2 separate regions of the Homo sapiens genome follow, and region 2 is linked to region 1. The links are contacts of gene promoters, found by promoter capture Hi-C in human tissues and cell types (Jung and others, 2019). All regions are on one chromosome and are shown on one strand. Each heading gives the region's core, a stretch centred on a gene start or on the middle of the fragment in contact. The rest is flanking DNA. Distances are from core to core; before and after follow the strand shown. Region 1 holds the start of GNL2 (G protein nucleolar 2). Region 2 overlaps UTP11 (UTP11 small subunit processome component).

What was found. Contacts are between HindIII fragments. The study calls those that stand out against the background at their distance.
Region 2: a fragment that was not itself captured here is called in contact with the fragment with the promoter of GNL2 in region 1 in 1 of the 25 tissues and cell types used here (hippocampus).

Annotation. Positions count from the first base shown.
Region 1 is chr1:37,593,008-37,598,489 of GRCh38, forward strand. GNL2 (G protein nucleolar 2) reads right to left here and starts at 2,930. Exons shown (of 16, transcript NM_013285.3): 1 at 2,752-2,930; 2 at 755-839. The coding sequence starts at 2,815. RefSeq lists enhancers at 2,429-2,488, 2,659-2,848. The HindIII fragment of the contact is 8,299 bases long and covers 1-3,979 here.
Region 2 is chr1:38,021,149-38,025,957 of GRCh38, forward strand. UTP11 (UTP11 small subunit processome component) reads left to right here. Exons shown (of 8, transcript NM_016037.4): 7 at 1,551-1,661; 8 at 2,397-3,672. The coding sequence ends at 2,480. Among named protein-coding and RNA genes, the nearest start is that of UTP11, 11 kb to the left of the region's middle. The HindIII fragment of the contact is 9,293 bases long and covers 1-4,809 here.

The DNA of each region.
Region 1 (5,482 bases), core at 1,680-4,179:
CGTAATGATTTCTGCTAGATGAATAACAACTAATGGTGACGTTCTAAAAAATCTGGTTACTGTTTACTTTAAAAAAAAAACACATACATACTTGAGTTTTTTGGGTAATTATTCAAAGGCTGGTTTAAATGAATTTTTCACGTAGAGGGTGATTTACGCCGGAATTCCAAATTCTAAAACAAACTGCAAAGTAGATGACTACACATATTAAGTTCTTTGACATTTGTATTTTAGTCACATCTTTTAGGACAGACGGAGATGGAGAATCTAATTACCAAACAAATTAAGACCAGTTAGCGGAATGCCACACTCAGCAAATCCCTGTGGTAGAGGCTACCTCAGCAGAACTCGGAGTTTTGATGACTGTCCAAGTGCCACAATGTCATGATCTACATTTTGGCATTAAAAAACACATTTTCTGGTGGCTTTCCTAACTACAGTCCTGTAGGTTTTGTTATATCTGGCCATATTTAACTCTGAGATTTAATGCGCCATTTGTGGAGGTCAGGGCTGTGAGAAACAAGACCTCTACTTTTGAGTATTGTGAAACCATCACTATTTCACCGCCAGCTACCCATGTCCTTAACCAAAAGTTAACACTTTATCCTAACGACACTCACGTACAATTATATTTGAGAATATATAACTCCTATTTGGAGGAAGTGGGGGTGAGAACAGCAAAGGCTTCATCAGTCTCAGCTAGCAGTCAAGGGCATGAAGGAAAAGAGAAAGGATGACAGCACCCAGTGCTCACCTGCGCTCCTTTTGCCTATACATATTCAGGCGCCGGATGGTGGCCCGGTCCCTCATGTTTTGGCCTCCTGCTCCCTGCACTCGATCTACAAAAGGCAGAAGTACACAGTGCACTATTTGATAACCAACCAGTATAACCAACAAGTCATTGCTTAAAATGCAACAAGTAGTTCACCCAAATTAGGTAAGAAGCCACCAACCACAAAAATCTCTACTTTCTCCATATGTTGCTCCAATAATTAGTACTTGAAGCTACATGGTATGACAAAGCTGACCCAATCTTTGATCTTCGATAGGATTGTATTTGAGAAGAATAGCTAATATTTTTGAGCACTTATGATGGCACTGTGTTATCCAAATTATAGGCATCATCTGATTTAATCTATACAATAATCCTATAGATATATTATCCCCATGCTGCGGAGTGAGAAACTGAGGCACAGTGGTCAGACACCTTGCCCAAGGTCAAACCGTTACTAAATGGCAGAGCCAGAATTTGTACATGAGCATTTGATCACCATCTATGGTCTTAACCACGAAGATACCTACCTCTGTGTCTCAGTTTAACAAATATTGAGTGCCTGCTCCATGCAAGGCACCATGGAGACTATAATTTTGATATATGTGTTCTTACTTTCTTAATGTTTGATTTTTGTTTAATCAACACAGCAATTCTTGCCTTACATCTCAAAGAGAAAGAGAAGGACAAACGAATAGGGTAATACTAGCCTAGCTTCTCATTTTGGGAGCCCTTTATTTACCTATTTATTCATTTATTCATTATTATTATCTTTTTTTTGAGACAGAGTCGTGCTCTGTCACCCAGGCTGGAGTGCAGTGTCGCGATCTCAGCTCACTACAACCTCCACCTCCCCGGTTCATGCAATTCTTCCACCTCAGCCTCCCGAGTAGCTGGGATTACGGGCATCCGCCATCATGCCCGGCTAATCTTTGTATTTTTGTAGAGAGGGGGTTTCATCATGTTGGTCAGGCTGGTCTTGAACTCCTGACCTCGGGTGATCCGACCGCCTCGGCCTCCCAAAGTGCTGGGATTACAGGCGTGAGCCACCACACCTGGCCAGGAGCCCCTTAAATCACCTGTCTGGTCCTGAAGTGATACAGTAGAAGACAGGCTGAAACCACAGCCCATTGGCTCTCCTAACAGTCTCTAACAGTAGAAACTGGCGGCTCTACTACTACTCACTAACTGTTGCAATTATGACAGGCCACTTCCTGTATTTTGATTCAGTCTCTTCACCTGTAAAATCATAATCTCTAAGGGCCTTTTGGGGTCTAACATTCTGAGATTCCAGTTTGTGCAAAGTGAATAATTTATTATCAATCCGGAATAAACATTCAACTTGCATTAAAATTGTCAAAAATTCTAAACCATATTTTAAAACAAAGTTTTATTAATTAAACCTGAATGGAAGGAACTCTCCCATAGGATGTCTTGTTAATCGTACAGGTGGAACCTCGCCAAAACTTACACACATCTCCTAAACAGCCTTACTGCAATGATCATACTGACTTCTTTGTAGGGTTCTCTAAGCACTTTACCAGATAGAATAATTCCAAGGGCCAAAACTATAAGCCCTTTCTCATTTTAAAGGTCAAAGCTAAGGTGGCAGGCAAGTATGATCACGTGTAAAAGGCCCGAAGGGTCAACCTACACCATTTTTAATCTGACTTTCTCTGCATCTCTCAACTGGAGAGGACCCAAGGCTGTCAGCCTGAGTGTTCACTTTCCTTGACTTCAGACCAGTTGACTACACTTTGGCCTGCCAGGCGTGCACTGAGCCCTCCTCAGTTCCCCCCTGAGAAGAAACCACCACAAATATTGCTTTCCTTTTTCCCTTTTCATCCCCAACAGCCACCCCGCTCGTAGTCATTCTAAGCAATGCCACTCGAGTAACCCTCCTTCCCCTCCAGTGCTCCTCGGAGCCCTTCCCTATACTTCCTCCAAGCTCCACCCTCGATCAGCCCTGCCGCCTGTACCTGGGTTTGTGCTGGCCTTGGACGGGTTGATGGTGCTCCGTCCTTTGTACTTGGGCTTCACCATCTTGGCGACGAGACCGGGACCGGAGTGCGAGGTCCGGCTTACGTGGTGAAACAAACTTTTATGTTCCCAAGCCCGGCCGAAGACACCCGCCTGAACCACGCCGGACCACGTGTGCACGACGTACGTCACTTCCGCTCGCGTCCCTCTCGGCCTCAGAGCGACTTCCTGTGAACGCGCGGCGCGCGCCGTCACCCTCCTGGCTCCGCCCCCGCTCCAGCCGCCTAGGCGTCGCCCTGCGTGGAGCCCCAGCCCGCTCCAGCCCTAGCAACCGCCAAGCTGCCCGTTCATAGCAACCGCCTAGTTAACCTGAACGCGCGGCCAGAGCTCCCAGTTGGGTCCACCTCCGAATAAAGAAGCTTCTTCCCAGGCCAGTGGCACAAGCTTAAGTTTGTCTTCTGAATTTGTCTTCTAAGTCCTTCCAAAAGTTGCCGACCACACAGCAGCCAAATATCCGTTAGGAGGTGTCATTCTCTTCCTTACAACTCCAGTGGCTTATCATCACTCTTAGAATGAGAGGTAGGGGAAGGGAGAAGGGAGAAACAGACAGAGACAGAGATTGATTCAAACTTTTTGCCATCCCTACAGGATTCTGTGATCTGGCCCCTGCCTGCCTATTTATCTAATCTCATGTGTACGTCCCTCCCTCTGGTTATTCTGACATTTACACTGGATATTCTCTCTGCCTGAATCACTCTTTCCCAGAATCTTTGCATAGCTGTCATTCAATCCTAAGCTCAAATATCACCTATTGGTAGGCCTGCAAGAATTAGCAAATAGAAATACAGGACACCAAATTAAATTAGAATTTCAGAGAAAAAAAATGAATACTTTTCTTTAGTACACCTCCAACAGTGCCTGGAAAATACTTAGACTAAAAAAGTATTCATCGTTTGCCTGAAATTCAAATGTAACTGTACGTTCTGTATTTTATCTGGTGACCCTTCCTGCTGTGAGAACTCATTCCTGTCTAATTTGTCTAAATCAGCCACCTTTCACCCTTTCACAGTTATTCTGTTACAGTATTCTGTTTTATTTATTTCATGGCATTTATCACTAGTTGAATTTTTTTTACAAGTTTATTGGCTGCTTCCCCCAAACTAGAATGTAAGATTCTTAAAAGCAGGGACCTTGTTAATTTGTTCACTGCTGTGTCTTTAAGACTTGAATAGCATCTGAAACAAAGGACTCAAAAAATATTCATTAAGTGAAAGAATGAGTAGATGGGAATGTCTCTTGCCTTGAGGATGAAGGAAGGCATTAAGACCCAGTGATTTCTGTTTCTACTAGCCAGAATAAAGTGTCTAGATGCCAGTGTTTGAACCAAGAAGCCCTCTCTCTTTTTACAATTTATTTTTTGTTTGTTTGTTTTTGTTTTTGTTTTTTGAGACGGAGTCTCGCTCTTGTTGCCCAGGCTGGAGTGCAGTGGCCCGGTCTCGGTTCACTGCAACCTCCACCTCCCGGGTTCAAGCAATTCTCCTGCCTCAGCCTCCCAAGTAGCTGAGATTACAGGCGCATGGTATCATGCCCAGCTAATTTTTGTATTTTTAGTAGAGACGGGCTTTCACCACATTGGCCAGGCTGGTCTCAAACTCCTGACCTCAGGTGATCCACCTGCCTCAGCCTCCCAAAGTGCTGGGATTACAAGTGTGAGCCACCTCGCCTGGTCCCTCTCTCTTTTTTGGTACCTCAAATTGTCAGAAAATGGCCATCTTTGTACCCTCTGGATAGGCCAAAGAAGAGATGGTTAGGCAAGAGGAAGGGTGGATTCATGCAGTGTAGCTCATTTCATAAAAACAAACAATTTGTTATAAAGTGAGGTATTCTAATTGAGCAGGGGATGATTGAGTCTTTATTTCTCTGAGTTTGAAACAAACCCCAAAACATTCTCTTTAGAGCAAAAGCAGGCCATGTCATAGGCTAGAGCTGGAAATACCTTCTGTCCCTCAAGCTTCGCTTTTATTGCCCCAAGGGCAAGTATCATGAGATTAAATGCAGCTCTGCTGGGAAGGCCCTGACTGTGACCTGTGTTAGGGAAGCTCTGAGAGCTATTTGGAAAAAACTTCATGATCAGTGAAGATGCCCCCTTCCACCCCACACTGTCCCTCTGATCCCCAAAACAAGGATACCATAGCCTCCTCCCAGAGAGAAGATTCAGTTAATGTGTTTCTGATGCCTCAAGTTGGTGCAAACCAGAATAAACACGGATGGCAAAAATCAGCCTATGAGCTCATTCAGGCTTTGATCAGAGACATAATTTCATTATGAAATTTTGAATCAGGCTGTTGTGAAGTCTTGCCAAGGAGTTTCATTTTCCCAGATGATATGGTGGGTTGTTTCTCTCCTGTTCTCATACTCTGCTTGCATTTATCTTACAAACTTTCCATCTATTTTTATAATCTGACCCATCAATCCTTTTACAACAATATTTGCCGATCTCGACAACCAACTTCAATTCTACCAGCAGATAAAAAGCCTGATCAAGGTAAGTCAAGCTTAAGTTACTGGTTTGATTTGCCTGCCCTGCTTGCCGCATTGTAATGCAGTGACTATTTTTCACTCTCTTTTCTGATGTCATGCCAACTAGCAGAGGCAAGATACACCTCCAGGTCTACAGTTCCTCAGCTTTAAAACAGATGCAATAGCTTAACTACTCTGAAAGACTGCAAT
Region 2 (4,809 bases), core at 874-3,373, 430 kb after region 1:
CTGACCTTGTGATCCACCCACCTCAGCCTCCCAAAGTGCAGGGATTACAGGCGTGAGCTACCGCGCCCGGCAATTAGGTGTACTTTCAATTAGCCGTGTCACTGACGCTTCTCAAGAATTGTGGTAGTCCCTAAAGAGATTAGTATTCCAAATTCCCATGTAGAATAGTTCACCAGCATAGCTTTTGAGAAGTTAGGGAGGTTTAGATTTTTGCCATTTTTGTCTAGTAATTATGTTTCTTTCTATTTTGTTTACTGCAAAATCATTTTTATTAAGAGACTGCTGGTGGGTGGATTGCAAGGATATTTTGTCTGTAACTTCGAGTGGGTAGACAACCCATGAGTGAGCTTTAGGAGGTCTGAGAAAACCCCCCTTTCTCACTGGTATTTTGTGCAGATAGGTATATGTGCTTGCACAACCTTTTACAAATGTGTATGTACATTTATCTCAAGAAACATCCCATGCTGGGCGTGGTGGCTCATGCCTGTAGTCCCAGCAATTTGGGAGGCCAAGGCAGGTGGATCACTTGAGGTCAGGAGTTCGAGACTAGCCTGGCCAATGTAGTGAAACCCTGTCTCTACTAAAAATACAAAAATTAGCCAGGCGTGGTGGCGGGCACCTGTAATCCCAGCTACTAGGGAGGCTGAGGCAGCAGAATTGCTTGAACCCAGGAGGCGGAGGTTGTAGCGAGCCGAGATAGTGCCACTGCACTCCAGCCTGGGCGACAGAGCAAGACTCCGCCTCAGAAAAAAAAAAAAAAGAAGAAAGATCCCAAAGCTTTCATCAGTTTCTCTGAGGTTGATGATTCCCCAAAATGTAAGGACCCCACTGATCTTTGAGGAGTCATTAGCAGTGAGAATTCTCAGGTGAGCTTCTGCTGAAAAAATTCTTCTGCTTTCTGAGTGGTAAGATTTTCAGGCACCAGCACACTGCCTGGGGACCCTTCTGTTGCCGACTCTTCTGTTGCTCTCCATTCACTTTGTATAGGGTTTCCAACACTGATTCATTCCTGCCATCATCTCAGGTGACTGTGGCACTCACACAAAGGTTGAAGCAGCTTAGTGTAGTAGTGGAAAGATTCCTGGGATTTGTGAGAGGGGGACGGTCCTGACTCTGCTCCAGGTGAGCTGTGTGTCCTTGGACCACTTCTTCTCTGGGCCTCATTTTTCTGCGTTTGTAAATGACGGGTTTCGATAAGATAGTCTACAGGGTTCCTTTTTTAATTTTTAATTTTTTTTTTTTGAGACAGAGTCTCATTATGTTGCCTACGTTGGTCTGGAACTCCTGGGCTCAAGTGACCCTCCCTCCTCAGCCTCCCAAAGTGCTGGGATTACTGGCGTGAGCCACTGCGTCTGGCCCAGGGTTCCTTTCAGCTCCAGAATGTGATGTTCCTAAAATGGGCAACGTTATTGTTACCACGTTATGTTGATTCTGGTGAAAGAAGGGAGTTGATGAAACTATGCAGTTGGCTTAAATGGATTAAGAAACAGTTTCTTACTCATTTTTGTCCTGTTCATTGTTCACTGAGAATGTGTGTGTTTCTTCTCCAGCGAATAGCTAAAGAAAGGCAAAAGCAGTATAACTGCCTGACACAGCGGATTGAACGAGAGAAGAAATTGTTCGTTATTGCTCAGAAAATTCAAACACGCAAAGATCTTATGGTGAGGAGAGAGAGCCTTAGGCCTCTTTTTTTTTTTTTCCCCCTTTTCTTTCTTGTAAAGGTCTTAACTCAGACTAGATTTCAGCTGTGTGTAAATCAACCCCAGTGAAAATGTCTGCTCCTCAGGGGCAGTGGTTTGAGCCAGTGTCTGTTACTCTGACAGTGTTGAAATGCGCCTTGATTAAGGAGGTAATAAGGGGGTTATTAGTCAGTGCTTTGGAACAGCAAAGGGTAGGATCGGGTAGCATATGAACTTTATAGCTTATGAGCAGCTCCCGTAACATTTAAACAGGTTAACAAAACAGTGCATGTCACTCATTGGTGTTTAAAAATAGACAACATTGTGTAGTTAAATAGCAGAGCTGAGGAATATAAGATGCCTCTTTCATATTCTTATCATTCCTCTAAATGTCAAATTCTTTAGCTTTGTAGATCATTTAGGTCAGCCTTTCTCAACTGGGGTTCCGTGAGAGAATTAAAATTATAATTTTAAATGAAACAACTACTTGAACACCTTTCTTCTCAGTTTTCCTAGGACTGTACACAGCTAGTACTTTCTAGATGCCTAGGGGAGAAGTTAATTCATTGCCTACAGTGGATGCCTTGGGCAGTAGGGCTGTGTCCGTTCTCAACTTTGAGAAGGGCTGAAGCAGGTGCTAATAGGTAGTTTATTAACCTTTCGATTTTACAAAACCATTTCCTTCTCTTTACTGATCACCTTTTTACTCTTTTGTAGGATAAAACTCAGAAAGTGAAGGTGAAGAAAGAAACGGTGAACTCCCCAGCTATTTATAAATTTCAGAGTCGTCGAAAACGTTGACGTGTTATAGATAAGCCTTGTCATTCTGTATCAAAAATCTGTTGTCGTTTTCTAGTAACTTCAAATTCCATTACTCCAAATGGCATGGTTTTCCGGTTTGTAACCATAACTAAATTGTCAGTCTGACATTTAATGTCTTTCTATGGACAACATTAAATCTCCCTCCCTTCTGTAATTGTTTTTGGATTGTGAAATTAGTCTTATTTTTATATACTTAATTTTTTTTTTCTTTGAGATAGGGTCTTTGTTGCCAGGCTGGAAGTGCAGTGTGTGATTATGGCTCACTGCAACTTTGAACTCCTGGGCTCAAGTGATCTTCCTGCATCAGCCTCTTGAGTAGCTGGGACCACAGACATGTGCCACCATGTCTGAGTAATGTTTAAATTTTCTGTAGAGACCAGGTTTTGCCATGTTGGCCAGGCTGGTTTTGAACTCGTGGCCTCAAGCGATCCTCCCACCTTGGCCTCCCAAAGGGCTGGGATTACAGGGATGAGCCACTATGCCCAGCCCATAATTTTTTTTGTTATGAAACATAGGATCTCATTACAGCAGATTTGGAAAGTAGATTAATTCATTCCTAATCCCAGTGCTTATTCAATAATAACAAATATTTATTGCATGCTTAACTGTGCTAGGAGCTAGAGCTGTGGAGGTGGACAATTACTGTGAGTAGTCTAGTTGATTTCCTCCATTTTGTAAAACGAGGCATCACTTTTTGTCCATGTTTTTGTGTTTTATAGTTACAGTAAACAATTTGATGTCCTACTTTTTTTTTTTTTTTTTTTGAGACGGAGTCTCGCTCTGTCGCCCAGGCCGGACTGCGGACTGCAGTGGCGCAATCTCGGCTCACTGCAAGCTCCGCTTCCCGGGTTCACGCCATTCTCCTGCCTCAGCCTCCCGAGTAGCTGGGACTACAGGCGCCCGCCACCGCGCCTGGCTAATTTTTTTTTGTATTTTTTTAGTAGAGACGGGGTTTCACCTTGTTAGCCAGGATGGTCTCGATCTCCTGACCTCATGATCCACCCGCCTCGGCCTCCCAAAGTGCTGGGATTACAGGCGTGAGCCACCGCGCCCGGCCGATGTCCTACTTTTTAATTAAATCATTAGCTCTTTCCCAGTTTGTTACATCACAAAAGTTTTTTACAGTAATATATGCTAGAGTAAACGTTAAAATAAATATTATTTTTAATGATTGCATAGTGTTTTATCTAGTGGATAGACTGATTTTACCCTCACTCATTCTTCTTTTATTGGCTATTCAGGTGGCTTCATAAATTATCCAAGGAGGAATTTTTTTCTCTTACTTAACAGCTGCAGATAGAAACTCTTGGAACAAGGAACCTACGGGAGCACCTCTTCCTTATTGATGAAGCTCAAATCAGTATAGGCCTGGCTGTGTCTCTGTCCTCTGCACTCCATGCCAACTCACAATTCCAAGGCTAGAATAGCTTGGTGCAGACCTTCACTCTGGGAATATGGACCCCTGGGTGTGTTGGCCAGCTTCTTTCTCTTCTCTGGTTCTCTCCTTCCTTTGTTTGCCCATATCAGGATTATAGGCCAAGGACAGTAAGGACAGGACTGAACATGCTTAGAGCAAACATGGGAGAACAGGGAGCGGGGTTCTGGGGGGCTTGCGTAGCCCTTACACCAAGGAGGGAGAACAGCCATGTGTGGATTGTAAGGCTTTAAAAGAAAATTGTTAATGCTTAATAAGTGCCCATGACTGTGAGCTTCCTGTACAAGCCTAGACTAGAAGCCTGTTTCCTCAGGGTGTACCCAGTGGAATTTAAATCAGGGGCCCTGGAAAACAGCAAGAAGGGTCAGGAAACAGAAACCAGTAGGTTTTGCCTTCAGGAAGGAAATGCTTCCCATTGTGTGTATGCACTCCCTTCTGGGGAGGTGCTGAGCTCAGTCAATGCTGAAAGTTTTAGAGACTTGAGGATCAAACCAGGGAAGGGACTCATCATAGTGATACTAGACAGGGGAGTGAGCAGACTAAGCAGCAGTCTGATCCTGGGGTCAAACAGCTGGATGCTGCTGCTCCGTCTCTTGCCCCTGCTGGGTGGGAAAGTGGGGGAGAGGATAGGGAATAGACCTAAATGCCTTCTCACGAACCACACACCCACATGAAGGTAGGCTCGCCTCATGGAATCTCATGTTCACAGATGCACAAGGCACATATAACTCAGGCCTCATAAACAGGTACAGGCATACCTACACACCGTCTGGCACAGGAGCACAAACAGTGACGTTTGAAGAGCCACACTCCCAGGCCAAATGGAGCAGGAAAGTGCATCCTTTTGGTGTACTGTGAGTTCCAGGCTGAAGG